Regions from separate parts of the Homo sapiens genome. Here regions 2 and 3 are each linked to region 1. The links are contacts of gene promoters, found by promoter capture Hi-C in blood cells and fetal thymus (Javierre and others, 2016). All regions are on one chromosome and are shown on one strand. Each heading gives the region's core, a stretch centred on a gene start or on the middle of the fragment in contact. The rest is flanking DNA. Distances are from core to core; before and after follow the strand shown. Region 1 holds the start of APP (amyloid beta precursor protein). Region 2 overlaps APP (amyloid beta precursor protein). Region 3 overlaps APP (amyloid beta precursor protein).

Region 1 (4,431 bases), core at 1,233-3,732:
TTTCATGCTCAATAAAAGTTCCTTACTCTCTTTTTTTTTTTTTGAGACGGAGTCTCGCTCTGTCGCCCAGGCTGGAGTGCAGTGGCGCGATCTCGGCTCACTTCAAGCTCAGCCTCCCGGGTTCACGCCATTCTCCTGCCTCAGCCTCCCCAGTAGCTGGGACTACAGGCGCCCGCCACGACGCCCGGCTAATTTTTTGTATTTTTAGTAGAGACGGGGTTTCACCGTGTTAGCCAGGATGGTGTTGATCTCCTGACCTCGTGATCCGCCCGCCTCAGCCTCCCAAAGAAAAGTCCCTCACTCTTAAAGTTGCCTCCTCCTTCCCAGGGCTGGCTTCATGGGCATGCAACCCTGGAGAGTCTCACAGGCCCTGCGGTGGGAGGAGCCCCATGCTTGGTTTAACGCTCTGCCATTGCCATCTTAAAATTCTTAATTTAATTTTTTTTCTTTTTTTTGAGGTGGAGTCTCGCTCTGTCGCCCAGGCTGGAGTGCAATGGCACAATCTTGGCTCACTGCAACCTCCGCCTCCCAGGTTCAAGCGATTCTCCTGCCTCAGCCTCTGGAGTAGCTGGGATTACAGGCAGGAGTAACCACGCTCGGCTAATTTTTGCATTTTTAGTAGAGATGGGGGTTTCACCATGTTGGCCAGGCTGGTCTAGAACTCCTGACCTCAGGTGATCTGCCCACCTGGGCCTCCTAAAGTGCTGGGATTACAGGCATGAGCCACCAGGCCCGGCCTTAAAATTCTTAATAATGTAACAAAGGGTCTCACGTTTGCATTTTGCAGTGGACTCTGCAAGATTTGTAGCTTTGGACCACGTTTCTCTTTGCATTCAGATACCTTCTTTTTTGCCTTATTTGCTCATGCAGACCCGGAACAAATACGGAATTGCGGTGGGTAAATGTGGTGCAGAAAGTGAACAACTGGGTTTGTCCTGTCACTTTAGGCTTTTCCCTGCTGTCCCAGCTTCATGTCACTTACTTGCTATTAGATTTGGGAGTTCATTAGCTTCATTTTCCTGATGTATAAATAGGAATAATAGTAACAGCCTCTTTGGCTTTTGTAGGAAGTAAATGACATGAAGCGTATAAACAAATACTGCATGACAATAAATATTTGTCCTTATTTGTTGAGGACATCCAAAGGACATTCAGGGGCAAAAGTAATCCAAGAGTCAAGACTGAATGCCTAGTGCGGGAAAAGACACACAAGACAACATTTAGGGGAGCTGGTACAGAAATGACTTCCCAGGAAGGAAGTCTGTACCCCGCTGGCTGAGCCATCCTTCCCGGGCCTAGGCACCCTTGTCAGCGCAATGAGCAAGGGAGAGAAGGCAGGCTGCAGTGCAGCCCTCAGAAGGGCCAGAGCACTCCCTGGCTTCAGTCCTTCGCTCCAAGCCCTGTGTGGAGTGGGCTGTGGCTTGGTAACTAAATGCTACTTCAGGTCAAGAGCAGGGGATATATCTGGGCAGTTCTAGAGCATTCTAAACTATCTGGACACTAACTGGACAGTGGACGGTTTGTGTTTAATCCAGGAGAAAGTGGCATGGCAGAAGGTTCATTTCTATAATTCAGGACAGACACAATGAAGAACAAGGGCAGCGTTTGAGGTCAGAAGTCCTCATTTACGGGGGTCGAATACGAATGATCTCTCCTAATTTTTCCTTCTTCCCCAACTCAGATGGATGTTACATCCCTGCTTAACAACAAAAAAAGACCCCCCGCCCCGCAAAATCCACACTGACCACCCCCTTTAACAAAACAAAACCAAAAACAAACAAAAATATAAGAAAGAAACAAAACCCAAGCCCAGAACCCTGCTTTCAAGAAGAAGTAAATGGGTTGGCCGCTTCTTTGCCAGGTCCTGCGCCTTGCTCCTTTGGTTCGTTCTAAAGATAGAAATTCCAGGTTGCTCGTGCCTGCTTTTGACGTTGGGGGTTAAAAAATGAGGTTTTGCTGTCTCAACAAGCAAAGAAAATCCTATTTCCTTTAAGCTTCACTCGTTCTCATTCTCTTCCAGAAACGCCTGCCCCACCTCTCCAAACCGAGAGAAAAAACGAAATGCGGATAAAAACGCACCCTAGCAGCAGTCCTTTATACGACACCCCCGGGAGGCCTGCGGGGTCGGATGATTCAAGCTCACGGGGACGAGCAGGAGCGCTCTCGACTTTTCTAGAGCCTCAGCGTCCTAGGACTCACCTTTCCCTGATCCTGCACCGTCCCTCTCCTGGCCCCAGACTCTCCCTCCCACTGTTCACGAAGCCCAGGTGGGCCGTCGGCCGGGGAGCGGAGGGGGCGCGTGGGGTGCAGGCGGCGCCAAGGGCGCGTGCACCTGTGGGCGCGGGGCGCGAGGGCCCCTCCCGGCGCGAGCGGGCGCAGTTCCCCGGCGGCGCCGCTAGGGGTCTCTCTCGGGTGCCGAGCGGGGTGGGCCGGATCAGCTGACTCGCCTGGCTCTGAGCCCCGCCGCCGCGCTCGGGCTCCGTCAGTTTCCTCGGCAGCGGTAGGCGAGAGCACGCGGAGGAGCGTGCGCGGGGGCCCCGGGAGACGGCGGCGGTGGCGGCGCGGGCAGAGCAAGGACGCGGCGGATCCCACTCGCACAGCAGCGCACTCGGTGCCCCGCGCAGGGTCGCGATGCTGCCCGGTTTGGCACTGCTCCTGCTGGCCGCCTGGACGGCTCGGGCGCTGGAGGTGGGTGCCGCGCCTCGGAAGGCGGGGGGAGGCTGCACGGTGGGGACGCGATACCCCCCAAGACCTTAACCCAAGTCTTTAATGCAGAGAAGCCGGGGGTCCGTCAATGGGACCCCTCTCCTCTCCGCCCCCGCTTGCGGACGTCCAGCGCATCCCCGCTTTCGGCCCAGCCCTGCCCCAGGGAGTCGCGCTCCGGCCCGCTGAGAGGGAGCGGGCGAGGCGCTGGTCTCCCTGGTTCCGCGCCAGCCCGGGGCGAGAAGGGTAGGGGGCGACCCTGAGCCCAGACCCCGACTTAGTCCCTGCCTTGGAAGCGGGGGTCGGGGGAGGCGAGAGACATTCAGACAGGGGGGAAGGGGGAAGGAGCACGTGGGGAAAACCGAAAACGCAGCGTCCCTAAAGCCAGTCCTTCGCTCTTGAATCGTTGCCCTTTCCTTTCTCTTGGGCCCTGGGGAGGAGGAGGAGGAGTCGGGACAGCCCAGGAAGCTAGGAGCCCCTCGCTTTTCCCTGCGTTCTCCGCCTCGTTTCACCTTCCTCTCTCACCCCCATCCCCCTTCCTTGCTCCAACCTCTTTTCGCGGCTGCTGGCGGCGGCAGCCTGGGTGCGACCCTAGCCCGAGCCGGCGTCGGGGTCGCGCACCGCCTTCCACAGGCAAACTTTGTGCATGTCCGCGTCTCCCTTTTGTGTAACTTGCGAGAAATGGGAGGGGTCGGAGACCCATAGCCACCCCGCGCCTTCCCCAAGTCTGGACGTCCCGGGAGTTCGCTCGCACCCTAAGCTCTGTCTGAGAGGCAGAAGGTCCGCGGGAACAAAAGCCGCGACACCCCGCCCTCGCCGTGGGCCGAGCCGCGTTAGTCTCAGTGCGCCACCGAGGCTCCCGCCCGGCTCCCTTCCCGGGGCTGCGCGTCCGCCTGGGAGGGGGCAGAGACGCTGCCGGGGCTTCTGGCGGAGCCTCGGGGCCCCTCTGCTTCCCACCCTCGGATCACCTCCGAGGCTTAATTCTGTGCTGGGCTGTAAAGTCCTTGGCGGGGAGGAAATAAGGCGGAGAGTGGGATGTGCGTCTGGAAAGGGCAGTGGCGGATGGTGGGGAGGCACGGGCTCTGTCCTGTGCATCCAAGGAGGCGTTTGTCTGATTAAGGCGCGGCCTCTTCCCTGGCAGCTCTGGGGACTCTGGTTTAGTTCCCCTGGGGGCACAGGATGCTGGGGAGGGTCCGAAGGGTCTTTTTTTTAGGGTGCAGATAAAAGGATCGAATTGAGTGAAGATTAAGACGGAGAAGATGGCGCCTCTGCAGTGCAGCAAAGAAAAGCTGTGTGGAGGCTGCAGCCTAGTGAAATCCACCCACCACTAGGTGTATAACAAGTCTTCCCCATTCATCCAACTCTCGAACATTCAGCTAACGCCTGTGCACAATGACTGTTTTTCTTTACATCTGAAGATGCTTAGAAGTTGTTTGCATGACAGTTGGGCCAGAGGAGGCTGTATTTCACTTCGGACTTCGGTTGGGTTCCTGTTTGGCATCTTAACATTTGCAACCTTCCTTACCCGTTTTTCCCCTCTTTTCCCCCAGCCTCCTAGTAATTTTCCAAAAGAAAAAAAGCAATTTCCGGGCAGATGTTTTCCTGTAATTCCACTGAGGCTGTACAGACTATCACACCATTAGTTTTTTAGTTTCTAATTTGCAAGGTCATTGAACTTTTTTCTCTTCTGATTTTTACCCACAAGTGGCTCAGGAATCACCTTAGGGC
Region 2 (4,431 bases), core at 1,273-3,772, 130 kb after region 1:
CCACACACTGTGTTTGATAGTTACATGTGGCTGGTGACTACTATATTTGGACAGTGTAGTTCCTGGATGACTTGAAATTTCTTATCACTCTTTATTTTTCCATTAAGACAGACGGTTTGTATAACCTAGTAATGTTTTCTAAGGCTGAGCCACTGAATTTTTATTATTGTTTTTAACTATTCTTGTTTTTAAAATTTAAAAAAATTGGTTTGGATTCAGTATAATTAGTATATCAGGTCACTTGCACCATTTTATTTTTTAACTTCTTTTCCTGTAGCCCTGCAGGCGGGCAGGGCTTCTTTCATGTGGACAAAACCAGAAAGGTGTTGCATCACTGATCCACACACAAGGTGGGCTCCTGCCAACTGGCAGCCTCCTTGTTCCAGGAACCAGCCCTCCTTTTGACACTTGAAATGTAAAATCAGAATAGAAGTTTAACGTACCTGACTTAAAACATCTTCAGGGGATGCTACGTGACAATTCTTGAAGAAGGAGAAACGAGCTACCATTTTCCTGGAAACAATATTTGATTCACAGTATTTTGTTGTTTGGTAGTTAATGAGGCTTGTTTTGATAGAAGATGAGTGTTTTTCTATCGCTAATGGGGCATTTAGAGAAACATTCCTTGTAGGATGAGCTCTGTTTTATGACCTCATTGAAAAAGAGGTATGAAAAAGAGGTAAATCTTTAACATAGGCAAAACAGGTAGTGTTTCAGAAATTTATGTGTAAATTACCGAGTATATTTTTCTCCAGTGTTGTAATGGTCATATTCTCAGATCACCTCAAAATACCTATTTATGCAGTCTGTAATGTAGCATAATCCAGACTGTTACTAACATTATGTAGCATAATGTTAATAATAATAATTACGTACATAATGTTAATAATACACAGACTCCAGCCATCGTGGGTAAGATTTTTTTCCATGGGAAAATTCATTTGGAAAGCTAACTTGTAAGACTAGCCAGGTAGGCAGCCTAGCCCTGGAGGCAGAGCTGCTCCTCACCTGGAACTGCAGAATCTGATTGAACCCAGTGGTCCATGGGGGTTGCTGAATTCGTAAAGCAAATGAAATGTTAGAAGACCCTCTAATTGTTGTAGAGTCACACTTTTCCTCTTGCAGAGGAGGTACTCACATTTTTTTTAAGAAACAATCTTTAATTATCGATGTATTCTTTTAGGTTTAGGTTTGCAGACACTGGTGAGCGTGTGCTGAGAGGTAACTTGATGTATCTTTCTGGATAATTAGATGATTTTTTTTTTCTATTTCTTTGAACATTTTTTTTTTAAAGAGCTGCTTAAGATCTGGAGGAGTGATTCCTTTTGACCGTGTCTTATTTTCATTAAGACTGTATAACTTGGAAGAGTTTTTTTTTTTCTTTTTCTTTTTCTTTTTTTTTTAAGATGAAGTTTTTGCTCTTGTTGCCCAGGCTGGAGTACAGTGGTGTGATCTTGGCTCACTGCAACCTCTGCCTCCTGGGTTCAAACGATTCTCCTGACTCAGCTTCCCGAGTAATTGGGATTACAGGTGTTCACCACCACACCCAGCTAATTTTTGTATTTTTAGTAGAGACAGGGTTTCACCATGTTGGCCAGGTTAGTTAATGTTACTCTCTGGTTTGGGGGGCAGTGATATGTTTTGGCTTTTTTCCCACCCAGATCTCTTCTTGAATTCCCATGTGTTGTGGAAGGGACTCGGTGGGAGGCAATTGAATCATGGGGGCAAGTCTTTCCCATGCTGTTCCTGTGAAGTGAATAAGTCTCACGAGATCTGATGGTTTTAAAAAGAGGGGTTCCCCTGCACAAGTTCTCTCTCTTTGCCTGCTGCCATACATGTAAGACATGACTTGCTCCTCCTTGCCTTCCACCGTGATTGTGAGGCTTCCCCAGCCATGTGGAACTGTAAGTCCAGTTAAACCTCTTTCTTCTGTAAATTACCCAGTCTCAGGTATGCCTTTATCGGCAACATGCAAATGAACTAATACAGCTCGGGGTGGCTTGTGTGGGTGCGTATGGCCATGTATGCAGGTGTGCGTGCATTGGAATATACAATTCCGTATTGAACCCAGTTTAAACTTCATCAGTTCTGGTGATTGCTGGAGTGTCACATATGGCAAGACGTCACCTTGCCCTCTAACTACACCAGAAAACCAGGCCAGCACCATTGACTATCTAGATACAGTGGGCCGTTTATATTATTATTGTTTCATATTTTTAGATTATTTGGTAAACAATTTACAGAACTAAGAATAAAGGAATAGTGAGAAATAACTATTAGCAATTTTAATAAGAGTTAACATAGTAAATATTTTAATTTTACGAAGAATTTAAATATGGTAAACCCACATGTTTATTCTGTATTTTCCCAGTTTTGAAGGTATGGATTTCTGAAATGAGCATTATCCTTTGGAATGCAGCTAGCTGCTAATCACCTGCCATGCACGAACCTGAAATATATCCGTCTTACAAATACTGGTTCTACATTTCAAATACATCTCTATTAGGTTCATCATATTTCTTGGTCTTTTTTTTTTATACTTGCAATTTCATTTAATTATTGTAAAAATTTAAGATATTTAAAACATTGACAGCTCATAATTTTATTGAAGAGAGAATATAGCCATCTTCCCTCAGGAATAAAATGTTTTCAAGTTTGGATTTGTAAACAGCTATTAAAATGATCAAGCCAGTCTTTTTTTCCCCCTTTTTTTCTGCATTATCTCTTCTAATCACCTTAGAGAGATTCCTGCCTTGGGCATTTGTCCACTTCCTAATGGTATCAAATAAATGTGTTGCACAGACATAAAATGTGTTGCATAAGCATCATAAAATGGCAAGGAATACTGTCACATCATTTTAGCAATGATGGTTAATGTTTTTGTCACATAATATTGAGTGATGATATCCTTCCTGTTGAATGACTAAGTGGATGAGAATACCATATTTCCTTTTTATTCTTAGAAATACATTGCTCAGCCGGGCGCAGTAGCTCACGCCTGTAATCCCAGCACTTTGGGAGGCCGAGGTGGGCCGATCGCCTGAGGTTGGGAGTTCGAGACCAGCCTGACCAACATGGAGAAAGCCCATCCCTACTAAAAATACAAAATTAGCTAGGCGTGGTGGCGCATGCCTGTAATCCCAGCTACTCGGGAGGCTGAGGCAGGAGAATCAATTGAACCAGGGAGGCAGAGGTTGCAGTGAGCCAAGATTGCACCATCACACTCCAGCCTGGGCAATAAGAGCGAAACTCCACCTCAAAAAAGAAAGAAAGAAAGAAAGAAATACATTGCTCACTTGTCAATTCTTGAGCTTGAGAAAATTCATCTAGGATATCATGTGAAGGCTCATAGCCTAAGGTTTTACTTACGTGATCAATTTCATTCTTCTTCTGGTTTATCTAATTGGTAAAATGCCTCCTTCTGTCAGTTGTTCCTATTTGCCAATATGTGGAAGATGATTTTTGACTATATTCAGTGAGTCTCCAGACTTCTTTTTATCATGCTTTTTAAAGAGATGGGACCTCACTCTGTTGCCCAGACTTGAGCGCAGTGGCTATTCACTGGTGTGAGTATGGTGCATTACAGCTGCAAACTCCTGGGCTCAAGTGATCCTCATGCCTCAACATCCCAAGTAGCTGGGACTATGCAGACTTTTTTTAAACCATCTTGAAAGATGATGCAGTACTTTGGGAACACAGCAATAAAAATGTGATAATTTCCCTATTGCATCACCTTTCTAGGCAATTATATCATTCTTTCATGCTCATATTATTTTGTCTTCTTTAGCACAGTTTTTAAATAGTTGATGGCTAATGATGAAATAATTCTTCGGATGATAAATATTTTGTAACATAGGAACACAATATAGGAAAAAGATCGAGGTTCATACCATATCTCAGACTCATGGTTAAGTACAAGCTAGAATGAGTTTTAGTCGATTAAATTTCTTTTTCTCTATGAATGGATAAAGTGAGAATATCAGCCCACAAGTAGTTAGAAGTGCTCAGAACTCAAAGGTAAAATTGTGTCCAAGACCTGATGGTATTCTAAAGGTTAACAGCCTATCCTACTTACCAAGAATTTACATTTATTATGAGGCCTGTACAACCTGATGCAGGAAAATACTTGGCATAATTTTCTATAAGTTAGGTAGTTAGGTGCTCAACAAGTATTTGAGTTGAATCACATTGGCATTCACATCAAACACATACACCTACGTCATCATGTTAACTTAAGGTTAATAGTGTCACCAAAACTAACTGGTCTTTAAAAAAGAAAAACTAGGCCAGGCATGGTGGCTCATGCCTGTAATCCCAGCACTTTGGGAGGCCGAGGCTGGCAGATCTCTTGATGTCAGGAGTTCAAGACCAGCCTGGCCAACATGGAAAAACCCCCTCTCTACTAAAAATACAAAATAGCCAGGCATGGTG
Region 3 (4,431 bases), core at 913-3,412, 110 kb after region 1:
ATGTCCTTAGTTTTTGTCTAATGTCCTTTCTGTGTTCCAGGATGCCATCCAGGAAGGCGCATTATATTTAATTGTCAGGTCTCCATAGCCTCCTTTCCTCTTGGCTATGACAGTTTCTTTATACTTCTCTAGTTTTTTAATAACCTTAAAGGTTTTGTATTGGTCAGATAATTTGTAGGATTCCCCTCTGTGGGAATTTTCTCATGCTTTGCCTGGGGTTATTGGTTTTAAGAAGGAAGACCACAGAGGTAAAATGCCCATTTCATCACATCATATCAAGGGTACGTGTTTATCAACATGATACAGCCCTGTTGGCATTGACCTTGATCACCTGGCTCAGGTGGTGGTTGTTGAGTTTCTCCACTTGAAAATTACTCTTCTTCCCACTTTATGTGCTCTACTCTTTGGAAGGAAGTCAGTTTGCACAGCCCACAATTAAGGAGCAGAGAATTATGCTTCATTTTCTTGAGGGCAGAGTATCTACATAAATTATTTGGAATTCTTCTGCGCAGGAGATTTGTCTCTTTTTTCCTATTTATGTATTCATTCATTCAGTCATTTAGACTCATGGATATTTACATTGTACTTTGATTTCTAATCCAGCACTACTTCATAATTTTTATTGCTCAAATTATTCCGGCTTTAGCTATTAGAAGCCCTTTCACTTGGTTCCTATGCTCATTTGACATAGCCTCTTTTTTTTTTTTCTTACAAGATGCTGCAGTCTCATCTTGCATATTTTCAGCCCTAATCCTAGAATCAGCTGTTCCTCCAAGGAGCCCTTGTTCCTTTTATTGGAGAGTAATGTTATTGGAGAATAGTATTAAAATCTGGATGTTAAGGATGCTCGTTGCCACTGGAGTTTCTTTGCTTTTAAGACTTCTCAGTTGATAGAGCAAGGCAATGTATTTGTCCATGTTCACCCTTATGTTATGCAGATCTATAAATATTTCTATAGCTAACTAGTTGTATTTATATTAAGCTATAATATCTAGTCTATATTAAGCTAAATACAAGTTCATCCGGATGTTTCCTACTCTAACGTATTACCACATGGACACTATATCTCTCCTCCTTGGTTATGTATAAATTCTCACTCCATCCACCATCTATGTACTTAATTGTTCAGTTTCAGTATATGTGCGTAGCCGTATCAGAATTGTTAACCCAGGCTGGGTACAGTGGCTCATGCCTGTAATCCCAATACTTTGGGAGGCTGAGGCAGGTGGATTGCTTGAGCCCAGGAATTTGAGACCAGCCTGGGCAACATGGCATAACCCCATGTCTACTAAAAATACAAAAAAATTGCTGGTCATGGTAGCATGTGCCTGTAGTCCCAGCTACCCGAGAAGCTGAGGTGGGAGGATCACCTGAGCCCAGGAAGTCAAGGCTGCAGTGAGCTGTGATCGTGCCATTGCACTCCAGCCTGGGAGACAGAGTAAGACTCTTTCTTAAAAAAATAAAAAATAAAAAATATAAAAAAATTTGTTAACCCACACCTATATGGATCTTTTTAAAAGCTGCAAGACTGCTAACAAATATTTATTTATTTATTTATTTATTTATTTATTTGAGACAGAGTCTCCCTCTGTCACCCAGGCTGGAGTGCAATGACACAATCTCAGCCCACTGCAACCTCTGCTTCCCCGGCTCAGGCGATTCTCCTGCCCCAGCCTCCCGAGTAGCTAAGATTACAGGCACCCGCCACCATGCCCAGCTAATTTTGTATTTTTAGTAGAGACGGGGTTTCACCATGTTAGCCAGGCTGGTCTCGAACTCCTGACCTCAGGTGATCCACTTGCCTCGGCCTCCCAAATTGCTGGGATTATAGGTGTGAGCCACCATGCCTGGCCATAAATACTTATTTTGTTCCCGTGGTTTTTTTTTTCTTTTCTCTTTTTTAAAGTAAATCCTTTGCACTATTTTTATTATTTTAAGACCAGTGTTATTCAGAGCCTGGGTTAAACACTATTCTGTGTGTGTGTGTGTGTGTGTGTGTGTGTTTGTTTGTTTGTTTGTTTTTTGAGACAGAGTCTCGCTCTGTCACCCATGCTGGAGTGCAGTGGTGTGATCTTGGCTCACTGCAACCTCCGCCTCCCTGGTTCGGGAGATTCTTCGGCCTCAGCCTCCCGAGTAGCTGGGACTATAGGTGCGCGCCAACATGCTCAGCTAATTTTTGTATTTTTAGTAGAGACGGAGTGTCACCATATTGGCCAGGCTGGTTTCAAACTCCTGACCTTGTGATCCACCTCGGCCTCCCAAAGTGCTGGGATTACAGGCATGAGCCACCACTCCCGGCCAGCACTATTCTGTCTTATACTCACTCTGCCATCTGTGTGTGTATATGGTACGTATGTGAGGCTGGATCTGTGCACTTGGAAAAGTTGGAGAGATGATTTAGGTAAAACTTTTAGTTTTCACTTCTTTTGCCTTTTTGCTTATCTTGATCCATTTAGTTCCTACCATCTGGCAAATAGTTCTCATCTGAAGAATCCCATCTGTCAGTTCTCACTATTATCCGGTAATAGTTACAGTGAAATGCTGGTGACGGCAACAGCCACTTTTTAAAAGGATGTGTAATTCACCCTCATGTCCTCTTTGAGAACCCAGTAACTGCCCACACTCTGAAGCTAAAACCATAACAGTTTTATCACATGGAAAGTTTGTTGAGAAATGTTTGGCTGTTTCTGTGAAGTAATCGTCCCGTCTCTTGAGTACAGATGCCTCCCAGGAAAATTTTCCCAGCCTATTTGTTAATGTGAAAGTTACAAAAGATAGCATATAATGAGCACATTCAAGACAAAAAAATTTGTGGAGTAAGAGTCTGAAATGGTAAAATAAAAAATCACTTAAGAAAACATTTATCTGTAGCTGTCATTTTCATATACACATATCTAGTGTATACAAGTTAGTAAGTACATAATTCTCAAAAGTTCTACCTGTCTACACATCTACACAGAAAAATTAGGAAAGTCTTGTCCAGACTTTTCCATCATCTTCAGTATAAAGCATCTTCTAGCTGTTGGAATAGAAACAAGCTAGATTCTTGACTCCTTTCTATTTGATTATTTAGATCTGACCTTCAGACGACATCCAGAATCTGAGAACACGCACCACCTCTACTGCTCTCATCCTGGTCCAAGTCATTGTCATCTCCCACCTGGATTAATGCCAGAGCCCCCTTCCTGGTCTTCTCACTTCTAGTCTTGACCCCCTAGGGCAAGAATAATTAGCTTAGAAAACCACCCCAGAGCCTTCCAGCATTACTCTGAGTACTGGCCAGAGTTGGACAATGTTTAAGGCCCCGTGCAGTCAGCTGTCCCTGTCCTGTCCTGGCTGTCACTCACTCGCTTGCCCACTGATCTCTTCCACATCATTCCTCCACGACAGCACTGATCTCCTTGTTCTTCTGTGAGTTCACCAGGCATGCATCTGCCTCAAGACTTTGTGTAATACTTGTTGCTTCCTCTGGCTAGAATATTCTTCCCTTTGATTCTGAATACTTTGTTCCCTCACTTCCTCAAGTCTTCACTGAAATGTCATATTTTCAAGTAGGCATTCCCTGACCACCCTATTTAAAATTTCACCCCTCAGAAAAAACAAACAAACCACCCCTTTCTCTGCTTTATCTATGTAACATTTATTACCATCCAACAGACACTGTATTTTTATCTGTATTTTTTATCGCTTCCCCGCTAGGATCATATATCGTTTTATCTGTTTTGTTCACTGCTGTATTCTTAGCACTGAGACATAATTGTAAGTATGCAGTGAAGAGTTAGTGGATAAAGGACAGTGGCTGCAAGAGGGGATTTAGGAAACACCCCCTCCCAGCCAGGACCAGCACTCGGTGCAAGAGTTGAAAGAGTTGATCACTCAGATTCTCTGCTTCTCCAGTCGTAGGGACTCCACCCCGCTGTGTTGATTGCTGTCATGTATTCACCCCATCATAAGCAGTACTCACATGTAAAACAGTACCATGTCATCTCTGTGGGGCTACAAGTAGGTGGTGATGGTGCAATGAACATATAAAACCCCAGTGTCTTCAGTAGGTGCGAAATAGGTGATTAGTGAATGATGAAGAGTAGCTGTTGCTGTTTTGATTACTATGATTATTATTATGAGAAACTACTGTGGTTGATGAGATAGATACTGGGGAGAAGGATACTATTAATATAATTTATTGAGCAACTTTGTTCTGGGCACTAGTTGAGTACTTTAGGGATATTAATTCATTTAATTCTCCCAGTTCTGCCATTTACTCTCTATGTGACCTGGACTGTTACATAGTCTCTCAGTCTCACCCTCTCTTTTTTTTTTTTTTTTTTTTTTTTTTTTTTTTTGAGACGGAGTCTCGCTCTTTCGCTCAGTCTGGACTGCAGTGGTGCTATCTTGGCTCACTGCAACCTCCACCTCCCAGGTTCAAGCGAT

What was found. Contacts are between HindIII fragments. The CHiCAGO score rates a contact against its expected background, and 5 or more counts as called.
Region 2: a fragment that was not itself captured here is called in contact with the fragment with the promoter of APP in region 1 in 1 of 17 cell types (megakaryocytes); the score reaches 8.4 in megakaryocytes.
Region 3: a fragment that was not itself captured here is called in contact with the fragment with the promoter of APP in region 1 in 1 of 17 cell types (non-activated CD4 T cells); the score reaches 5.5 in non-activated CD4 T cells.

The regions. Positions count from the first base shown.
Region 1 is chr21:26,168,821-26,173,251 of GRCh38, reverse strand. APP (amyloid beta precursor protein) reads left to right here and starts at 2,482. Exons shown (of 18, transcript NM_000484.4): 1 at 2,482-2,688. The coding sequence starts at 2,632. It overlaps APP-DT (APP divergent transcript), which reads right to left and starts at 2,385. Exons shown (of 4, transcript NR_186396.1): 1 at 2,200-2,385. RefSeq lists silencers at 2,130-2,959, 3,460-3,729 and enhancers at 2,747-3,271, 3,770-3,979. The HindIII fragment of the contact is 2,642 bases long and covers 1,997-4,431 here.
Region 2 is chr21:26,043,384-26,047,814 of GRCh38, reverse strand. The region is part of intron 5 of APP (amyloid beta precursor protein); the gene reads left to right. Among named protein-coding and RNA genes, the nearest start is that of APP, 130 kb to the left of the region's middle. The HindIII fragment of the contact is 6,437 bases long and covers 1-4,431 here.
Region 3 is chr21:26,059,803-26,064,233 of GRCh38, reverse strand. All of the region lies in intron 3 of APP (amyloid beta precursor protein), which reads left to right. Among named protein-coding and RNA genes, the nearest start is that of APP, 110 kb to the left of the region's middle. The HindIII fragment of the contact is 7,631 bases long and covers 1-4,431 here.